6 separate regions of the Homo sapiens genome follow, and all the other regions are linked to region 1. The links are contacts of gene promoters, found by promoter capture Hi-C in human tissues and cell types (Jung and others, 2019). All regions are on one chromosome and are shown on one strand. Each heading gives the region's core, a stretch centred on a gene start or on the middle of the fragment in contact. The rest is flanking DNA. Distances are from core to core; before and after follow the strand shown.

Region 1 (3,303 bases), core at 530-3,029:
GTGGCCAAACCCAACCCTACCAACCTGATTTGTGCAGCCCATGAGCTACCAATAACTTTTATGTTTTTATATGGTTAAAGTAAATTCAAAGAAGGATAATATTTCATGACATGTGAAAATGATATGAAACTCAAATTTCAATGTCCGTGAATAAAGTGACGACTGTTTTTGTCATTTTATATATATATATTTTTTTTGCAGAGGGACTGGCTTGCACTTTTTAAACATTAGTTATATTATTCTCAGTACAACCCTATAAGATAAAATTCATTCCCATTTTACTGATGAGCAAACTGCAGCTTATGTTTCAGCCAAAGTCAGACAGTTCATTAAGGGCAGAGTCATCCATGGCAATCTGCCTGTCCAGATATTACACTTTCCCCCGGGGTAAAAGCACTGGCTCTAAGAATAGTGAGAACAAAACATACTTATAAAAGGGAGTTGGGGGCTGGGAATGGTGGCTCACGCCTGTAATCCCAGCACTTTGGGAGGCCGAGGCGGGTGGATCACTTGAGATCAGGAGTTCGAGATCAGCCTGGCCAACATGGTGAAACCCTGTCTCTACTAAAAGTACAAAAATTAGCCAGGCGTGGTGGCGGGTGCCTGTAATCCCAGTTATTCGGGAGGCTAAGACAGGAGAATCACTTGAGTCCAGGAAGCGGAGGTTGCAGTGAGTGGAGATCGCACCATTGCACTCCAGGCTGGGCGACAGAGCGATACTCTGTCTCAAAAAAAAAAAGAGAGTTGGGAAGTGTTTTGAATGCTTAGAGGGCAGCTTGGGAACTCAATTAGAAGAAGGGACGGTTTAAGCAGACATATTTCTAAGAGACTTATATGAGTTAACTCATTTGATCCTCAGCACTCCTCCATGAGTTGGATGCTATTATTAACAACCCAATATTAGATAAAGGATGACCTTCTTAAAGACCTCTTCCCAGGAAAAAGACTGTGTGTGGGTACTCTGAAGCTTTGGCTCTTCTGGTGGGGACACCACTGGGTTTCCAAAGGCTCATCCAGCCAAGCGAAGTATCTATGACCTCGTCGTGTTCAGCGCGCTTAGGGAAGGATTCTATGGACTGCACTTTTACCCTGGTGTCCTGCATTCTTGCTCCAAGACTTCTCTTACCACTCTCATTCCCCTAAATGCAGCTTCTGACACCTTCTAGCTACGAGTTCTTGGGCTCCTCCTTCGTGACTTCCTTTTAAGATAATTTCTGAGTTACAACAAATCAGCATTTGAAGAAATGCAGCAGATAAGTTGAAAATTCAAGTGCTGAGGAATGTAAAGGCCCAAAACAATCCCGTAGAAAGCACAGAGGCAGATGACAGTCTTCCGTTAAAGATTTCACTGCTGTAGATTTCTGAGAGTGCTGTGTAGCTGTCCTCTTTATCCTGGTGTTTGCCACTTCGAACAGTCACTTTCCCACTTGGAACTTACTTGTGGCTTTGCTGACAAAACAGGAAGTGATTTGAATACAGTTTGTTTTTATGACCTTTCAACCTCAGGAATTTGAAAAGTTTTAGCAGTGGATTTACAGCCTTGCTTAATACTTCTATTTCTTACAAAACAACCGTATAGGGGTTAAAGTATCAGTGCAAAGTCCCGTTCAAATATTGACTCAGTAATGAGCTCTACAAGCCAGCCTTTGTGGCATGTTAAATTCAAAACAAGCTTAGCATTTTTTTTTTTTTTTTTGGATAGAAACTGGTGGGGGTGGGGAAAGAAAGAGGGAACTGGGAAGAGAAGGAGGGGAACTTAAACCTTGCTTCCTGCTCTGTCTTTCTCAGAAAACCAAATATGGCATCTTCCATGAGGAGCTTGTTTTCTGACCACGGGAAATATGTTGAATCTTTCCGGAGGTTTCTCAACCATTCCACGGAACACCAGTGCATGCAGGAATTCATGGACAAGAAGCTGCCAGGCATAATAGGAAGGTAACAAAAGGGACGTTGTTGTCAAAGGGACAAGCCTCAGACTGGCTGTGCGTCAGTGATAGATGGGTCTCGCTCAGCCTCGCAGGCTGGGCACAGGGATAAGGGCGAATTACTGATAGCAGCTCCCCGTCGTCCCCTCCTCGCTGCCCTGCCCTGCCTTTCTCCTGCAGTGCTTTGGTTCCACGTTTGCTTTGAACACTCAAAGGCTCCCATTTGTGTTGTATTTCCAGCTGCATAGAGATAAGCGTTAACCATTTGAAGGCACAAATCCATGTTCATTTGGGAAAAGATAAGATGCTAATCTTCGAACTCAGATTTTTCAGCCCTCCTCCAAATTTTACATCCCAAAAAAGTCCCAAAGGGAGTCTGGTATGCTTTTCATTAGAATCAAATATAAATAATTGCCAAAGTACGATTTGCCCTGAGGATTGAGTGCCTCAGTTCTCATAATATCCATTTAAATTAATTTTCCTTATCCATTGTTATAGTTATCACTCTCTTCCTCAAAATTGTCTTTTTCTTTCAGCTTAATATTAGCAATGTGTTCCTTAAAAAAAGAACCATTTTCCCATTATCAGTGAAACTCACTGGTTCCTATCCTTCTTGCAGAGTTCTTTTTTTTGGGTGATTAATGTGTTCAATTTGTGCCAGAGCTGATAAGCATTATGAGAGTAACAGATTCCACATGCTAAAGATAATCAAATCACCTATCTGGGGGTGATTTGCTGTAACTCATTCTACTTCAGGAAATAATAATGGAAAACTGGGAAGAAATGACTATGGATCCAATTTGCAAACAGCAAAGGAAAGTGGTATTTTATCTTTTGCTGAATTTCTCTATTGCAGGCCTGAAATTCTTTCACCAGGGCAGTACCTATGTCTGACCAGAGCAGGCATTATTAGATGTACATAAAATTTTATTTCCTTTTCTATTTAACATGATTCAGATTTTAAATGTTAGCTTTCAAAAAATAGGATATTATATATTAAAAATTAATATGTAATAGGATAAGGATGCAAACATCAAAGCAAATAGCAAATATAGAGAACTTCTTACCTAGGAACTAATTATAGTTAACCTCTTTGGGTTTCTTTGCTCATTTCTAAAGTTAAAGGTAATGAGTTAATTTCTCAATTCTTTTTCAGTACTAAAAGTATTTGCTCATGTCTGTAGCTTACCAGATCCTTGGTTTTCTTCAGCCATACACAGTTTGGTTTGAAGAGGTACCGTGGATGGAGATAACATAATCGATGATGAATGACCCCTTCCTTATCTTCAAAGTTTAAATCTAACTGGAAATATTATAAAATCTGTGAAAGACTGAAGAATTTTTAAGGGCACACTGTTTGTCTTATAACAGTAGTATA
Region 2 (3,303 bases), core at 263-2,762, 410 kb after region 1:
ATTTTCATTTTGAATCAGTTTAAACTTGGCAGCATTATTAAGGTAATTAATGCGCATTCATACTTTGAGTTTTATATCTTCATTTAAACTCCATCTCTTTTTAAAAATTTAATTATGAAAGGCCCACCATATGTTTAAAAGCCATTATGATTGTTTAGATAGGGAGAGACTGGTGCTCCCTCTGCTGGCTCTGAAGAGAAAAAAGATAACTGGAAAACCATTGCAGAATTAGACTGACATTCTGGCCAAGGCTTGCCACCCAAAGGATGATTTTAGAACTCTGAGATGCTTTACTGAATTGACTATATAACCTGAACTACACTAAAATACCACACTAACACCTATGCTTGTCAGACATGAAAGAAATTATAGAAAGTGGTATCTTAAATTCAAGGTTAGAAAAGCTTTTTATTGAAAATAAATCTATATTCTAAAAGCCCTGATTTGATTATTATACAATTTATGTATGTAACAAAATTGTACTTGTACCCTAAACATTTCAATAAATAAAAAATAAATAAACCAAGAAGAATAAAACAGTAAAAAGCATAAAATAAAACTTGACAGCTGGTATTAAAATAATAGGTGTATAAAATAACAATGATAATTTTTTCTAGGTGTGAGTAGTTGTTAACTTTGCAACTCCAACATATTATGTGTGTAGAGTATTTTACAGTTGTGACATAGATTAATGAGTATTATGCCAATTGATCCACAAAAATAAATGCTTACAGTTAATAGGCCAATAATATTTCACCGTTGTTCCCTCCATTTGAAAGAGAGGAATGTCACCAAGGATGTATAGCTCTTCTACAGGACCAGCAAAATAATCCCATGACCACTTCAGATATTAATGATAGCTAAACTCTAATGAATGCTTACTATGGCTAGACACTGTAACAAGGAGTTTATAAGCAATGCCTTCTTTAATTCTCGTAACAGCCCTATAAAGGAGGCATGATTATCATTCCCATTTTATAGATAAGGAAATTAAGCCACAGTCACTTTCCAGCCCAAAATTCAGGATGACACCCCAATATCCAAGGTAAATCATGTGAAAACTCACAGAAGCCAACTCAAACACAGGTGATAAGTTGCATGGAAATCGCACACAATGTGGAGTACCATGAAATATTGACATACCGAAGTCTATTTTATCGACTAGAAACAAAATTTTTAGTGGTGAATATTACAAAAAATATATATATATATATATATGAGTACCAACCAAGGTATATTTGTATTGCATATGTTTAAATATAAAAGTAATATATACATAGACTCTAGATTTGAAGGAGGATCTTAGGTCCCAGAATGTCTTCAGCTCTAATAAACATGGACACCTTATGCCTTGCAAAATTATTATTCACTTATTAAATTTAACAAAAGCTAAAAATTCTTCAGATTATGTTTCAACTCTTTTCAAATCAGTCCTGGAAGTCTCCCCATCTCCTTTTACACGATAAAAATTGGCATGAATTAAAATCTTTTGAACCCTCCCCTAACCATTGGGTACAAGCTTTGTATTTAGGCTCAACATGTTTTCTCTTTAGGTCTTCAAACAGACTTTGCTGAAATCTTGGCTTTTCAAATGACTTGAAATATCATGAGCCATGACAGTAAAAATTTACTTGGTAACAGAAACAACATGAGACTGAAATCAAAGACCTCTTACTGATCTTAATTTTGGGCCACATCATCCACTTTGCTTTGTAGGATTTATCCACAAACTCCTGAGTTTCTGTAGGAAATGCTAAATTTCTTTAACATCTCTAAAATGATACAGATCTCCACATTCTCAGAATACACAGAAATTTTCAGAAAAGGATATTTTACAAAGTTAAAACTATCTACAATGAACCCAATTACCTTATGAGGTGGTGAAAGGGCTTCATTAGCTGTCCAGATTGCCATTTTTGTGCTCACTGCTTATCTAGCTGCATACACCGAGTAAACAATCAGCAGCAGTTACCAAACTATTAAAATAATAGCAAATTATGAGGCAAAAACTTCACATTCAGAAAATTCCACTCATAAACTTAATATTTTCTGAGCTTTTGAGAAGATACCAACGTGGTTAAATTTTTTAGCAATACCCCAGTATTCTAGGGGAGGCTCATTTGAGAACCACGTCTTATGGGATTCAGTCTTTGATCCTCCACCATCATGTTTCCTTCCATTGTTTCCCCAAAATAGAATCCACAGGAATTGTCATCACAAAAAAAAAAAAATGCCATGTTGAATTGCTTTTAATTTTATTTTATATTTGAAGGAAATTGAATTAAATCAAGCACCAGTGGATTGGCTCAGAGAGGGCAAAGCATGGGAGAAAAAGGCACTGGTTGCCATACAGTTGGCTGAGAAGGAACCAGCTGAACCTTAAAGGATTGGTGGAGGTTGAGTGTGGCCTGCTGTGACAGTGTAGAATCCCTGGCAGCCCCAGACATGGGAGGAGCTGCTGCTTACCCCCAGGCTCATCTCCAGGCACCTCCATGAGGTACTCATAAAAAAGATGGGGGCACAGTGGGTAACTGGGGAGAGTCCCTCTTAGATGATACAGGCCAGGAGAAGGGGAAGAGCAGCCACTATGGGGAAAGCATGAACCCCAGCCACCCTGCCCAGATCATCCTCTCAGAAAGAACAAAAGCCTTGAGCCTCTGTAACAGAGGCAGAAAACCTTGTCACTCCCAGGCACAGGTTAAAAACCTATTGTTGATGACGGAATAAAAAAGAAAAATTATCTATCCCTGGAGGAGGGCCAGGAAACAGTCTTGGGCCCAGCCTCAGGATCTTATATTCATGCCATTAGAAGTGAGCTGTCACCACTGGGGAAGGCCAAGAAACTCTCTCCTATACCAGGACATCAGAGAATGCCCTCCTTCCCCTTCTGCTACCACCCCACAACCATACCACCAACATACTATTATCATACAATACAGCAATTTCATTCCTATGTATTTACCCAAGTTAAAGGGCTAAGTGCCCACAAAACATGTACACAAATGTTTATAGCAGCATTATTTATAATTGCTAAAAAGAACCTAAATGGCAACAACCTAAACTTCCATAAACTGGTGAATGGATGACAAACTGTGTTTTGGCCATTTGGTGGAATACTATTCACCAGTAAAAAGAAATGAACTATTGTTTCACGCATTAACGTGGAGGAATCTCAAGTGCTTTATGTTAAGCGAAAGAAGGCAGATACTAAAGATGATATGATATATGCTTCTCTTCTTAAAATATTCTAGAAAGGCAAAACTATAATGACAAAGACTTCAATGGTTGCCTGGAGGTGGAAGA
Region 3 (3,303 bases), core at 593-3,092, 390 kb after region 1:
GAAGTGTAATACGACCATTTGGATTTTGAGCATTTAAGAGAAAACTGCTTATAATGGGTTAAAGAGTGGCCCCTCAATATTTGTGTCACCTGAAATTTGTAAATGTGGCTTTATTTGGAAATAAGGTCTTTGCAGATGTAATTAAATTAAGATGAAGTCAACATGGATTAGGGTGAGTCCTAAATCTAATATGATTAGAGAGAAAATTTAGACACAGAGACAGACACACAGGGAAAAGGCCATGTGAAGACAGGGTAGAGATTGGAATAATGCATCTGCAAGCCAAGGAACACCGAAAATAGCTAACAACCACCAAAGCCTAGAAGAGGCAAGAAAGAATTCTTTCCTAGAGCCTGTGAAGGGAACATGGCTCTGCTGACACTTTAATTTCAGATGTGATGTCTAACCTCCAAAACTGTGAAACAATGAATTTCTATTGTTCTAAGACACCAATTTTTTTCTGTTTTATTATGGTAGCCCTGGGAAGCTAACATACATACTCTTTAACCACTAGATGTGAATCCCCAGTGAGAGAAGGAAGAGAGTGGTCTGGATCTGTGAAGTGTAGGACAGAAACAATCATGACTTAGTGTTGTGGGGCCTCCTATTTCCCTGGGAGGAAGCTATACATGCAAATGGAAAGACTGAGCACTAGGATCTGAACCCCTGGGAGCCAAGAGTGAGAGAGCTGTGACTGAACTTAGCACTGATCTGGCTAAGTTCAGTCCAAAGATGCATGAAGTCCTTGGTGGAATCTTGTCATCAACATCAAGAGCGTGGAAGAGCATCTTCTGATAGCTCTACAGGGCCTGTTGCTCATCAGAAACAAGTGCCAGCAAGGACCTGTGGGAACGGCAGGTGTCTCCCTACATGAGTATGAAGCTTGACTAACCACTCTCCCTTCCTTGGGCTAACTATACTCTTGGAGGTTCTGGGCAGTTTGAAGATGGTTTCTAATTGTACTTTAGTTCTAGTCTCCAAGACAGTCTTGAAGTATGAAAAGGAGGAACCACAGAAGGTTTTACAGAGAGATGACACCCACACTGAAGAACAAATAGGAGTTAGCCAAGAGATGAATAGCTGGAGAAGCATTTCAGGTGGAGGAGCTGATAAAAGTGAGGGCCTAAACTTGGAAGAAAGATGGCACATTGGACTTCTGAAAAGAATTGAGAAAAACCAGAGCACAGACCAAAGTGTAGGAGTTTCAAACTATGTGATGAAGAAGTAAATGGTCTATGTGGCCAGCTGGGGAAGTGGTGGAGTTGGTAGAGACGAAGAAAAAAAAAATACTGAATCCTAAAACCAGGGCCACAATGGAGGTAACTGAAATTCCAAACACATTTCCAAATCTAAATGGTTATTGTTTTATTAGTACTATTGTACCACCCTCCAGTTGCATTGTGAGTTAAATGGGTGTTTTTGGGCTAGCCTAGGAATTATAATACACATACCATATATTTTTAATGTTTCTATAGATTATTATCCTCCTGCAATCCAAACAACCAACTTACAAAGAAGCCCAATCTATTTCTAAAAGGCGAGCTAGCTATACTAACTACCTGCCACATCCTGAAATGGCCTTGAACCTAGAGAGGGGTTGCAATTCAGTATAAATTATCCTCTGCTACCTTTGCATTCTGAATTGCTGATGAGCAAATTCATCACTTTTCTTTAATTTTCACATGCTCTTTTTCATTGAGATAGCCAGAAATGCCACAATCAATCTTGATAAAACTGATCTGGAGACAAGAACCAAAATACAATTAGAAACACTCCCTTACTCTCACCCCTATCACAAAGCTGTAATAGTGCTGGGCAGGAACTAGACAGACAACCCCTTGCAACCCCCTGACCATGAATTAGTGATCCTTGGTCCAGTGTCCAGAGACAACTGTATTTTCATAGGAAAACCTACGCTTTCAGTTTCAGCATAAGGAAACTACAAGCCTGTGCTGCTAGACTCACCAGTAAAAAGCAATAGAGATTGAATAAGGATGATAGCGGCCTTCCTTGAATTCTCTCCCTGTCCATGAATTAAATCCTCATAGAGGTGAGACTCTCATCACCACACAGCCCCAGGAAAGGACATGATTGATTGAGTTCATATTATAATACCTGGTACTTCTCCTGCCTCTGGGAAAGAAACATAAAATAAAGATGCCTGTACCATGAAATACTCAAATATGTTCTTCAGAATTCAAGGACTTAAATTATTCATTGACTGGGGCATTTTTTTTTGAAGGAGAATAAAAGGGAAAAAAAATACCTACCCTAGTCTTTCTGTCACAAAATAAAATATCAGCCCTAATGTTCAAATTCACCCGCAGAACACAGTATAATCCCATGTTATAAACAATTTTGTAAAAATTGAAAGTATATGCAAAATAAGATAAACAAAAGGAAAGGAAGGCAACTGAGTGCAAGAAAATAGCTCACAGCAAGTGACATTTAGAATGAAAGATAGAAAACCCACACTATTTTGTTCTATGCTTAAATAGACCAAGAGCAGAAATGTACCAGAGACATTTGATAATCAATATAACATTACCCCAAGGGCACCATATACAACTATAATTTTAAAAACAAAACTCAAGGAAATGGAACATTTAAATCAGAAGAACTTTTAACAACAAAATGACCAAAACAATGGTTTAATGTTCTTTTATATCAGGGAATTCTTAACTTAAGGATTATTTTTCACAGCCAGTTTTTGCCAAGCAATGAGAGAACAGAAAAAAAAATATCTTAGGTCTTTCCTGTCACTGTAGCTTTCATAATCACCACAATTCAACATGACACCATAACTTGTAAGAAATTCTCCCCGGCATCCATTTAAGTGAACACTAATTGGAAAGTTCAGTGAACAGAAAAAGGCTGTGAACAATATATATTTCAACATGCTGTGCCCGATCCTGACCTTAAATGACAAGGAGGAAAAAAATAGTCCAACACAGCCTCTGCATTCAGTCCTGTATTGTGAAATCATGATGTGGATTAGCTCCAGGAAAAATGTCAGGCTCGTGGTGAAACCTCAATAAAACCTGGAAACTCCATGTGAATCAATCTGCTCCACACACACGGTTTTATAAAAGAGCATCTGGATCCCCTGCACTGAAGTCAGGAACTCCACAGGTGAGAGGCAATAATAAGACATTGCTGAAAACATGAGCTCTGAAGCCAGACAAACAAGGGGTTTAACCTTGTCTCTATTGTATTCTTGGGCAAAGAGCTTTGCCTCTCAAATTTGCTGTCTGTAAAATGGGGCTAGTGATAACAATGTCATGAGCTATTGTGAGGAATAAT
Region 4 (3,303 bases), core at 549-3,048, 370 kb after region 1:
CTGAATAGAATCCCCACCAAAAAAGAGGAAAAGATGTTCCACATCATACGTTATTAGGAAAATGCTAATCAAAATGACAATGGCTAAACTTCAAAACACACATGACACCAAATGTTAACCAGGAGCAACAGGAACTCTCATTGTTTGTTGGCGTGACTGCAAAACAGTACAGCCACTCTGAAAGACAGTTTGACAATTTCTTACAAAATTAAACATACTCTTACACAAAATCCAGCAATAGCATTCCTTAATATTTACCTAAATGAGTTGAAAACTTATATCCACATAAAAAGTTGCATGTGAATGATTATAGTAGATTTATTCATAATTGGCAAAACTTGGAAGAAACCAACATATCATTCAGTAGGTGAATGGATAAATGAATTATGGGTACAGTCACACAATAGAATATAATTCAGAACTAAAAAAAACAAAATGAGGTATCAAGCCTTTAAAAGTGTGGCAGAACCTTAAATTCATATTGCTGAGTGAAAGAAGCCAATCTCAAAAGGTACATACTGTATGATTCTAACTATATGACATTCTGGTATAGGCAAAACTATGGAGACAGCAAAAAGATCAATGTTTCCAGAGGTTGGGTAGGGGGAGACATGAATAGCTGTAGCACAGAGGGGTTTTAGAGCAGTGAAACTACTCTGTATGATACTATAATGACAGATTCATGTCATTGTATAGCTGTCAGACTGGTATAATGTACAACACCAAGAGTGAATCCTAATGTAAACTATGTACTCTGGTTGATAATGATGCGTCAATATTGGTTCATTGATTGTAACAAATGTACCGCTCTGGTGCCCCGAGTTGTTAGTGGGGAAGATTGGGGTGGGGGATGAAATGTAGAAACTCTCTACTTTCTCCTCAGTTTTTCTGTAAGCCTAAGAGTCATGTAAAAAAATAAAGACTATTCATTTTTAAATACATAAATAAAGCAAAGAGAAAAAAGAATGAGAGTAGACAGGAGATTTATGGTTCTGTCTGTAAAATCAAATGGAGGGTCAAAGAAGAAAAACTGGGAAGAAATCCAGCAGTCAGGAGCATGAGAAGCACAAAAGAGACTAAAGAGTCAGCGATTTCAAATAAGGTCAAGCAGTTAGCACAGGTCATTCTTGCAGAAACCTCTGTGGCATTGCTGCCCACTTCAAGAATGACAGAGAAGACCTCTGACCTCTGGGAAGAAAACCAGAGTGAGGAGCATTTAAGTAGCAATTGAAGACAAGCTTATATAAATAAGAAGGTATTTATCTAAGCCAATTTGTAGTATTCACTTAAAAATTCCTTTGTAATATGTAAATGTAGGTAATTAGTGGTTAACATGTATCTAGTTTTTTAATAGTTGTGATTAAGTGATTTTATTAAAGATACTATAATTTTCTTTCTCATAAGCATTGGATATCTTAACCCTCTGTTTATCTCTTGGACTTACGCTAACCTTACAAGGGCCATTTGGGAGAATGTTACCAAAATTGCAGGAAAGCATTTTGTTTGAGGTGCCCGAACTAGTTTCTTGCAACTAGCCCTAGCATATTTTAATTTAGATTTCTTTATTTTGTCTTTTATCCAACAGAGAAACATTGTGCATCCAGTTTTCTAAGCTCTGAGCTTCACCAGTTATTCCTCTGCCTGTTCTGCCTGTAGCTAAACCCTCCAGCTTGCCGTCTAATAGTAACTTCATTACATTTAAGAAAACCCTGAGATTGAAGATGGCTAGTTGCAAGAAGATTTATCTGTTTATCTGAATAGTAATAAGCAAATCTGACATTGAATCCATCTCCTGACTTGCTTAAAGAATAACATAATAGATTCTGATGCCGGCAGTATAAAGCTTTCAGTTAAACCTATTCACATTGTGTGTGTGAGCACACGTGTGTATGGTCGTGTGTGTATGTGCATGAGCTTTCATGTATATTCTACAATGGGCACACAAATAGATCAATCCCTACTGATCTTTATCACAGGCCTGGGAAGGTATGAGACCAGCCTCATTCTGATAGGGTAAGTTTGGGTGATGAAAGCTTCAGAGTGAATCAGGAACCTTGGTCCCAAAGGTCTGGCTAAGAGCTATAATGTGAATGGGAATGGCTAGCAAGAGAGGGAGGAAAGCAGGGAGTGTGAAAATTTAGTGCATATAGAAAAGAGAATTAGGGGACAATACAGTGTCCAGTTTCATCCAAAATCTCTGTGCGATCACAGAACTTGTAAAATCTCTCAGAGTCATCAGGAGGAAGTAACACAATATCAGGACAACACTGGCAGTAAGATGTTACATGCCGAGAGGAAGACCATGTAGGAATCCAAGCCGATTAGAAAGGAATACTGGCAGATGCCCCAAGTCAGGGTGGAGGGCTTGCAGGGAAGTATTTGTGGGACCATCCATAGGAGCATTAAGAGGGTGGTGCAGAGTCTTTAAGGAAACTGGAGGTCTTGGTCTGCTAGGTAACATTAAATATGACTTAGAAGAGGTGCCAGGGAAGCTTCTCTGAAAGCAAACCTTAGGACAGCCTTTTCAGGTCAAAGCTCATGTTTACACAAGGCAATAATGAATGCTCTTTTTTTTTTACATGTCTTTCTGTAGAAATATATTTTTATTTCTTTTGCATAAATAGCTAGGAGTGGAAATAATGGATTGCATTGTAAGTGCTTATTTAATTTTGCAACAATGCCAAGCCATCGGCTTCAGGAGCAGCATCACTTTTCACTATTATTAAAAGAGCACAAGGGTTCCAGTGGCTCCATTTCCTCACCAACACCTGCCATTGCCAGTCTTTCCAATTTTAGCCATTTTAGTGGTGTGAAGAGGCATCTCATCATGGTTTTAATTTGGATTTCTCTAATGACTAATGATGTTGAGCACCTTTCCATGTGCTTATTGGCCAGTTGCATTGGGATTCCTCTAATTATAGTAATATCCACCTGTAAGAGATAGAAACTCATGTAGGGGGTGGAAACCTGTTTCTTTTCTTTCTTTTTTAAAGCCTCTTAGAACTTGTTTTATTTTTTATTTTTCAATTAATTTTTTTTATTTTCATAGTTTATTGGGAAACAGGTGGTGTTTGGTTACATAAGTTATTTAGTATTCATGAGATTCATGAGATTTTGGTGTACCCACCACCTGAGCAGTATACACTGCACACAATTTGTAGTCTTTTATCCCTGGCCCCCTTCCCACCCTTTACCCCTAAGTTCCCAAAGTCCATTGTGTCATTCTTAGGCCTTTGCATTCTCATAGCTTAGCTCCCACTTATGAGTGAGAACATATGATGTTTGGTTTTCCATTCCTGAGTT
Region 5 (3,303 bases), core at 269-2,768, 300 kb after region 1:
ATTGTAATTCTAAAGGCCATGTTAATCAATTTCTGAAACTCACTTAACCTGGTTCTAATTGATTAATGCATTTCCTCTCCATGTATTAGGCATTTTCTTTACTCTTGCTTTTCTTCTCAGAAAAATAAATGTGTATGTATGTGTGTGTGTCTATATACCTTGTAATCATTAATATGACTTGGAAAATGTTAAATTAACTAAAGTGAATGTGTAAAATAAGTTGGGTGAAAATATAACTTCATTGCAATATTGAGATTTTCTCTAGGGATGAGCAGGTCCCTCTGCTCAAGTCTCTAATTCCCCTTTTCACAGTTTAGTGATTCCATGCCTCTCCCACACATGGCTTAATTGGTGCAGTCTTTTGAACTTCTTGGAGTGATGTTATATTTAGTTGCCAATATTATTTCTGCTTTCTGTTCCCATGGTTTCTCAGTCAGGCAATCAGATCATCTGAAAATGCTACTTGGCCTTTGTTTCTGTATTTCCCAATTTTGTCTAAAGGTTTTGCTTATTTTTTCTGATCAGTCATAAATATTAGTGGGGACGGTGGCTTCTTTGTCTTTTTCCTAATGGCACTGAGACAGGAGTATGCCAGCACAGGCTGAGGTTCTTCTCTCTTTGAGATCTATCTGATAAATAATGTTACAGAATTATGCAAATGCTACCAGTTTTTGTGAGTCTTGAATCAACATAAAATACTGAATTTTAGAAAATACCTTTTTTTTGCATCTTTTCAGATGAGCATGTATTTTTCCTCCTCTGACATTGTAAATATTAAATCTTTATATTTTTTGAAAATACCACACTCTAGTCATGGCCAAGAAAACCAGCCCGGTTTTACGCTCCTTCTTTAGGAGACCTGATCAACAGAACCAAGTAGCATTTTAAGACCCACTTAGTTCCTAAATTAAAATTTGTAGAATTTAGAAATGATAGGTCCTACTTCCCAGGGGTATTTCTTCATTGAGTATAAGCTTTCAGTATGTAATGGATACGTTGTCTTAGTGCAAGAAAGTGTTTTTCTATTTGTATTTTGCTGGTTTATTTTTTAAATCATGATTAAATGTTGGATTATGTCAAATGCTTTTCTGTGTTTATCAAGATGAGCATTATTTTTGTCTTTTTCTATTAATATGATATTTTACAATGATTTATTCTTAGATGTTAAACCATCACTGCATTTGCAAAATAATTTCACAAGGTTGAGGTATGTGATTCATTTTATATATTACTTTATTCAGTTTTCTAGTGTTTTTAGAGAATGTCTGTGTCTGCACTCATCAGGAGATAACTGGTCTGTCGTCTTAATTTCTTAAGATACTTTTGTCTGGATTTTGTATCATGCTAATACTGGCCTCATGGAATAAACTGGGAAGTATTCTCTCTTGATAATGAAGGATTGAATTGTTAGTGAAGGACTGGTATTAATTCTTCATTAAATACTTAGTCAAATTCACAAGTTTTAAAAAATTAATTAGTACAAATTTTGGAGGACATGGCTGTAAATGTTTATGATAATTTATTTTCCTAATTTTATGCGCATCTAATTTTGTCACCTTTTAGCTGTTAAATGCCATCTGCTCTTTTTATATGATCATTGATTGTTATCTTTCTATAAATTACAAAATACTATTTGTTAAAAGATTAAAAGGCTGATAATAACACTATTCATGTATTATTGACTCTAAACTGATTTTTTTCTCTTTTCAGATTGAACTTTAAAGACCCTAAGAAGTCTTGATTAGATCGGATTTTAAGGTAAATGTTGCATACAACATCTCTTAATGGTCTTCTAAGAAGTCCCTATGGATTCTAGCAGGACTCCTATTTTGATATTCTGTTCTCTCCAAGGTAGTAGTAACATACAGATATGAACTCAAGGTGGGAAAAGAATGAGGTAAGTTAGTTTAGATAAGGTAAACGAGAGGAGACAAAAATTCAATGAGAGTTTTTGCAAGTTGAATTCTAAGTAAACTTTGTGAATCATTTGGATTGAAAATGTGGCCTTACTTCACTCTGTAGTTACCAGAATTAGCCCTAAAACAGCTCATTAGCACTACTTGACACTTTGTTAAATATTCCGTATAAATTCCTACTTTCATAGACAGGGTTTTCATTTTAATTAGTTTCCACTGGTGTAGCATTCTTTCCAGAAGGAATGTCATTGTGGTTTGGATTATGGATTGATTTATCAAGTAATGAAGGTTACTAACAAAAGACCATCCAGGCTTACATCATCTCTTTCCATACTTCTAATTCAGAACATCAAATAAGTTTAACTTTTCCATCTTATTTGCAATTATTTTCTTAAATTGTGTTTTGTCAAAAAGAAAAAAAAAAACTATGTTACTCATCCTTCTCTTACTTAACCTTGGATTACATTTCAAAATGATGATAATCAGCAAGCTGTAGAAAGTGGTATATTTATAGCAATATGGTAACCAACTTAATTAAGTAATATAAAAGATGTATTGAAATATCTGTGTTCTTTCTCTTGATTCAGATAATTTTCTTCATGATCTGAATTACAGATGGAATTACAGAAGGAATTACACGGCTTGATTACTTTTTAAAGTGATTATTGAGCTCTTCAGATATTTATTGGTTTCTCCGGATCAATTATCCACATTTATAAAGTGCTATATCTAATTGGCAATCTATTTCACTTACACTTTTTAAATTGCCCCATTGTTGGTCAAATCGTGTTTACCAGCACCAGACTCCATTATACAAAATAATTTTATTTCTAAGTAGTTTCCTTAAAGCTGTTTCTCTGATTATATATGACAACTTTGATAGACTACAGTCATCGTACAGACTGAAGCTGCCATAATCATTTTCTATATTATGGAATCAGTCTCTATTCTTTATAAATATGGATCATAGCAACCAGTTAAGACTTGTTTTGCTACAGCATGGTTTACATTGTAGGTAAACTCAAGTGAATAGCAAAACAATAATATTGAGAGTTCAATAGATAATGAAAACCTAGAAAATCCAGATTATTTAATAATAGAATCTTAGAATTAAATGAGATGACTTACGTTAGAATGAAATTATATAATCACATCAGTGATTATCTAGTACAGCTTCTAACTAAAGCAGAAATATCTTCTGGCATGTACTTGACAGGGGCTCATTATTTTTCATTTTTTATTTATTTATTGAGACAGGCTCTTCCTCTGTCACACAGGCTAGAGTGTAGTGACATGATCATGGCTCACTGCAGCCTTGACATCCTGGGCTCAAGCAATCCTCCCACTTCAGCTTCTGGAGTAGCTGGGACTACAGCTGGCTAGTTTT
Region 6 (3,303 bases), core at 433-2,932, 280 kb after region 1:
TGCAGATTAAGGGCAGTTAACACTAATAAGTAGTACTTTGGACAAACACAACTCAGTGTGTTATCAAAACACTTTATGTTGACTTCCACAGAATTTATGCAGTTGCATAAGATTTATCCCCTCCAACTAGAAAACTCTGAAAGCCTTGTGCCTTTTCTGATCACTCTTTCATGATAGAAGTATTTTGGACTTGGTCTTAATTCAGGAATTTAAAATGTCCAGTCCAGTACATTAACAATTTTTATCATACAATATACATTTATGTTACTGTATATTATATAGTATATTATTATATACTATATAATAGCATATACACTATAAAATTATCATTGTAATAACAGCTTGATCTTCATTCAAAAGTAAGACTTCACCATAAACCTGCCCAACCTCCTCATCTATGACTCTGTCAATGGGAAAAACTGTGTGGACGCTTCCTTCTTTCTCACTTATCTTATTCTTCAGCTGCTCTTGTGGAGCCTTCAGAGGTTGAAGCACCAAGAAGGAGAGAGGGAAGAAGAGAAAAAGAAACATACTTTCTTATTTGAGTAATATACTGTATCTTACCTTCACACTCTGAGCCAGGTGGATGCTTGAAAATGCTTCCTTGTTTTATGGGCATTCCCATTTCTTGGAGGGACCTGTGCTATCTCCTCTGACTGAGACTTTCAGGCACTGGGCAGTACATTCTCTCACCCTGGTTTTGCTCCTCTTTAGTGCAGATTTTCAGGTGATCTGCTCCCCTACGACTCACTAATTGGAGTCCCATTGGCCCCCCATGTGACCCTCTTGGATAAAAATCAAAATGGCTCTCGTCTTGTTTGTTTCTCCTGTTTGCCCCCAGTCAGGTTTATAGATTGACGCATCCTCTACCTTGGTAAGTCCTGAGAGTGGAGACAGATTTTAAAACGATAACATCTTTGCTTCCAAAGCAGCTTGCTAGCCTTCCTTGCCCTCTAGATTTCATGAGCAGATATCAGAACAGTCCATTGTGTCTGCCATTCACCTAACAAGTTCTCCATTAGCCTATGGAAGCACCTCTTTTAAATTTGAAATCAAGTAGGCAGCATCCCACTTCCTTGGGTGGGTAGGTGGAAGAACTTAAAGCACAGAGCATGCTCTAGCCCAAGGAAGATTTCCAAATTAACTGTAGGATATCCAGTTACATTTGAATTTCAGGTAAACAACAAATGATTTTTCTTAAATATAAGTATGCCCCGTGCAGTATTTGGAACACAATTATACCAAAAAATTATTTATTGTTTATCTGTGGGGTATTTTATCTGACATCAACCAATTCTCCAGCCCTCCAGATACCAACAAAGTGTTGCACAAATTCTGACTCTAAAGTTAGTGCAGACCCCACAATGAGGCAGCATCATTGTCTAAGGTAGATACCTGGGGTTTGTCATCTCACACCAAGAAGATTAAGGACATAGACGCACACGAGGAGTGGGTTTAGGAGTGGAGGTTTAATAGGCAAAAAAAAAAAAAAAAAAGAGAGAGAGAAAGGAGAACAGCTCTCTCCCTTGCAAGACAGGGGCTTCCCAAAAGAAAATCCATCCAGCAGTGGACTGCACTAGATTTTATTGGCAGGCCTGAAGAGGTGGTGTCTGATTTACATAGGGCCCACAGATTGGTTGGATCAGGTGTGACATTTAAATAGCACTGGGAGAAGGGTGACCAACCCATCCTGATCTTATTATCCAAATGGGCTTTCCACTTGGCCGGTGCCATCTCGTCTGCGCCTTACTGTACACGTGGCTTGGCAAAGAGAAGGGAAGATGGAGCCACCATTTTGAACATGCCTACTCCCAGGTAGCCTTTTCCCATTGGCACAACGGCCGCATTCACCAGTGCAAGCTCCCAGCTTGCTTATCGGTCTGCAGCTCAATTTTACAGGCTGCCCTTTATTAGAAAAGGAAATAATTTGGGGGCTGCTTTTCATTAAAAGGAAAACCTTACCAAGGACTTTCCTTACCCTCACTAGCTGCCTAAATAATTTCTTTTTAACTCCTATAACGACAGCATAAGGTCTCAGGACCACAAGGCTGCCCCCACTTCAGAAACCAGCCGCAAGTCCCAGGTTTTCTGTACTTCTGACTGAATGACTATAAATTAGAGGTTCCTATTGCCACCTCCTCAGGTTCAATAATTTGCAAGAAAGAACTCAGGAAAACAGTTGACTTATGTTAAAAGAGAAACCTTAGACAAATTAAATTTCACAATGTTTAACTGAGAAAAGAAAAATCTGCAAATCAAGCAGCCTTTGACCAAGAATAGGTTCAGAGAGACTCTGCTGCTGTTGCATGATAGGAGAGGATTTATGGACAGAAAAAAGAAAGTGACATACAGAAAACAAAAGTGAGTTACAGAAACAGCTAGATTGGTTACAGCTTGGTATATGCTTTATTTGAGCCTAGTTTGAACAGTCACCCACTCTTGATTAGCTGAAGCTCAGTGATTGTCACAGGAGTAGGTTACAGAATGTTTACATATCAGTTAGGTTACAGTTCATGACATATGGAGAAACCTTTGGGCCAAACTTAAAATTTGCAAGGAGGCAGCTTTAGGCTAAGCTTAATTTAATACTTACTTTTACTAGCTTATTATAAAGGATACATCTCAGGAACAGCGAAATGAAAGAGAGGCATGGGGCAAGGTACTGGGCGAGCTGGGAGGTGCACAGAGCTTCCATACTTTCCGGGTTTGCAATCCTCAGAGCATCTGGATGTGTTCACCAACCCCAAAACTCAGCAACTCAAAAGTTTTTATAGCATTTAATCATCCTTCTCCCCCCAACTTCCAGGAGGTCCAGGGGTGGGATTCAAAGTTTCAGCCTTCTAATCACTTTATCTTCCTGGTGACCAGCCCCGTCTTGAGGCTAGAGACTCTACCTCCATTACATTTTTAGACAAACTAAAATGTGATCAAAAGAGACTTTTTTAGAATAACAAAAAACATTCCAATCACTCAAGAAAATCCAAGAATTTTAGGAACTCTGTGGTAGGAACCAGAGACAAACACTAAATATACTTCTTTCTGTACCATAATCTGAAATTCAATGTAACTGTGTAATCACCCAACAGGTTCTTCTTGCCTGATGCATGGATAAAATCAATATACTGAAACATGGCAGTATTGCAGTAGAGAAAGTGTTTAATTAACACAGGGTTAGGAAAGTGGATTTATTTATTACTCAAATTAGCCTCCCTTAGAACTCAGAGGCTAGGGTTTTTATGGATAATGTGGTAGGCAGGGGGCTGGGGAATGGGTGCTGCTGATCATTTGGGGATGAAATCATAG

Evidence for each region. Contacts are between HindIII fragments. The study calls those that stand out against the background at their distance.
Region 2: a fragment that was not itself captured here is called in contact with the fragment with the promoter of HNMT in region 1 in 2 of the 25 tissues and cell types used here (dorsolateral prefrontal cortex and hippocampus).
Region 3: a fragment that was not itself captured here is called in contact with the fragment with the promoter of HNMT in region 1 in 1 of the 25 tissues and cell types used here (spleen).
Region 4: a contact is called between a fragment that was not itself captured here and the fragment with the promoter of HNMT in region 1, in 2 of the 25 tissues and cell types used here (dorsolateral prefrontal cortex and heart left ventricle).
Region 5: a fragment that was not itself captured here is called in contact with the fragment with the promoter of HNMT in region 1 in 1 of the 25 tissues and cell types used here (mesendoderm cells).
Region 6: a contact is called between a fragment that was not itself captured here and the fragment with the promoter of HNMT in region 1, in 1 of the 25 tissues and cell types used here (thymus).

What each region holds. Positions count from the first base shown.
Region 1 is chr2:137,962,694-137,965,996 of GRCh38, forward strand. HNMT (histamine N-methyltransferase) reads left to right here and starts at 1,780. Exons shown (of 6, transcript NM_006895.3): 1 at 1,780-1,935. The coding sequence starts at 1,799. The HindIII fragment of the contact is 6,466 bases long and covers 1-3,303 here.
Region 2 is chr2:138,373,967-138,377,269 of GRCh38, forward strand. No RefSeq gene overlaps it. Among named protein-coding and RNA genes, the nearest start is that of SPOPL-DT, 130 kb to the right of the region's middle. The HindIII fragment of the contact is 7,053 bases long and covers 1-3,303 here.
Region 3 is chr2:138,353,404-138,356,706 of GRCh38, forward strand. No RefSeq gene overlaps it. Among named protein-coding and RNA genes, the nearest start is that of SPOPL-DT, 150 kb to the right of the region's middle. The HindIII fragment of the contact is 9,390 bases long and covers 1-3,303 here.
Region 4 is chr2:138,328,664-138,331,966 of GRCh38, forward strand. No RefSeq gene overlaps it. Among named protein-coding and RNA genes, the nearest start is that of SPOPL-DT, 170 kb to the right of the region's middle. The HindIII fragment of the contact is 3,271 bases long and covers 164-3,303 here.
Region 5 is chr2:138,267,751-138,271,053 of GRCh38, forward strand. No RefSeq gene overlaps it. Among named protein-coding and RNA genes, the nearest start is that of LINC01832, 170 kb to the left of the region's middle. RefSeq lists an enhancer at 1-47. The HindIII fragment of the contact is 9,692 bases long and covers 1-3,303 here.
Region 6 is chr2:138,241,217-138,244,519 of GRCh38, forward strand. No RefSeq gene overlaps it. Among named protein-coding and RNA genes, the nearest start is that of LINC01832, 140 kb to the left of the region's middle. The HindIII fragment of the contact is 6,611 bases long and covers 1-3,303 here.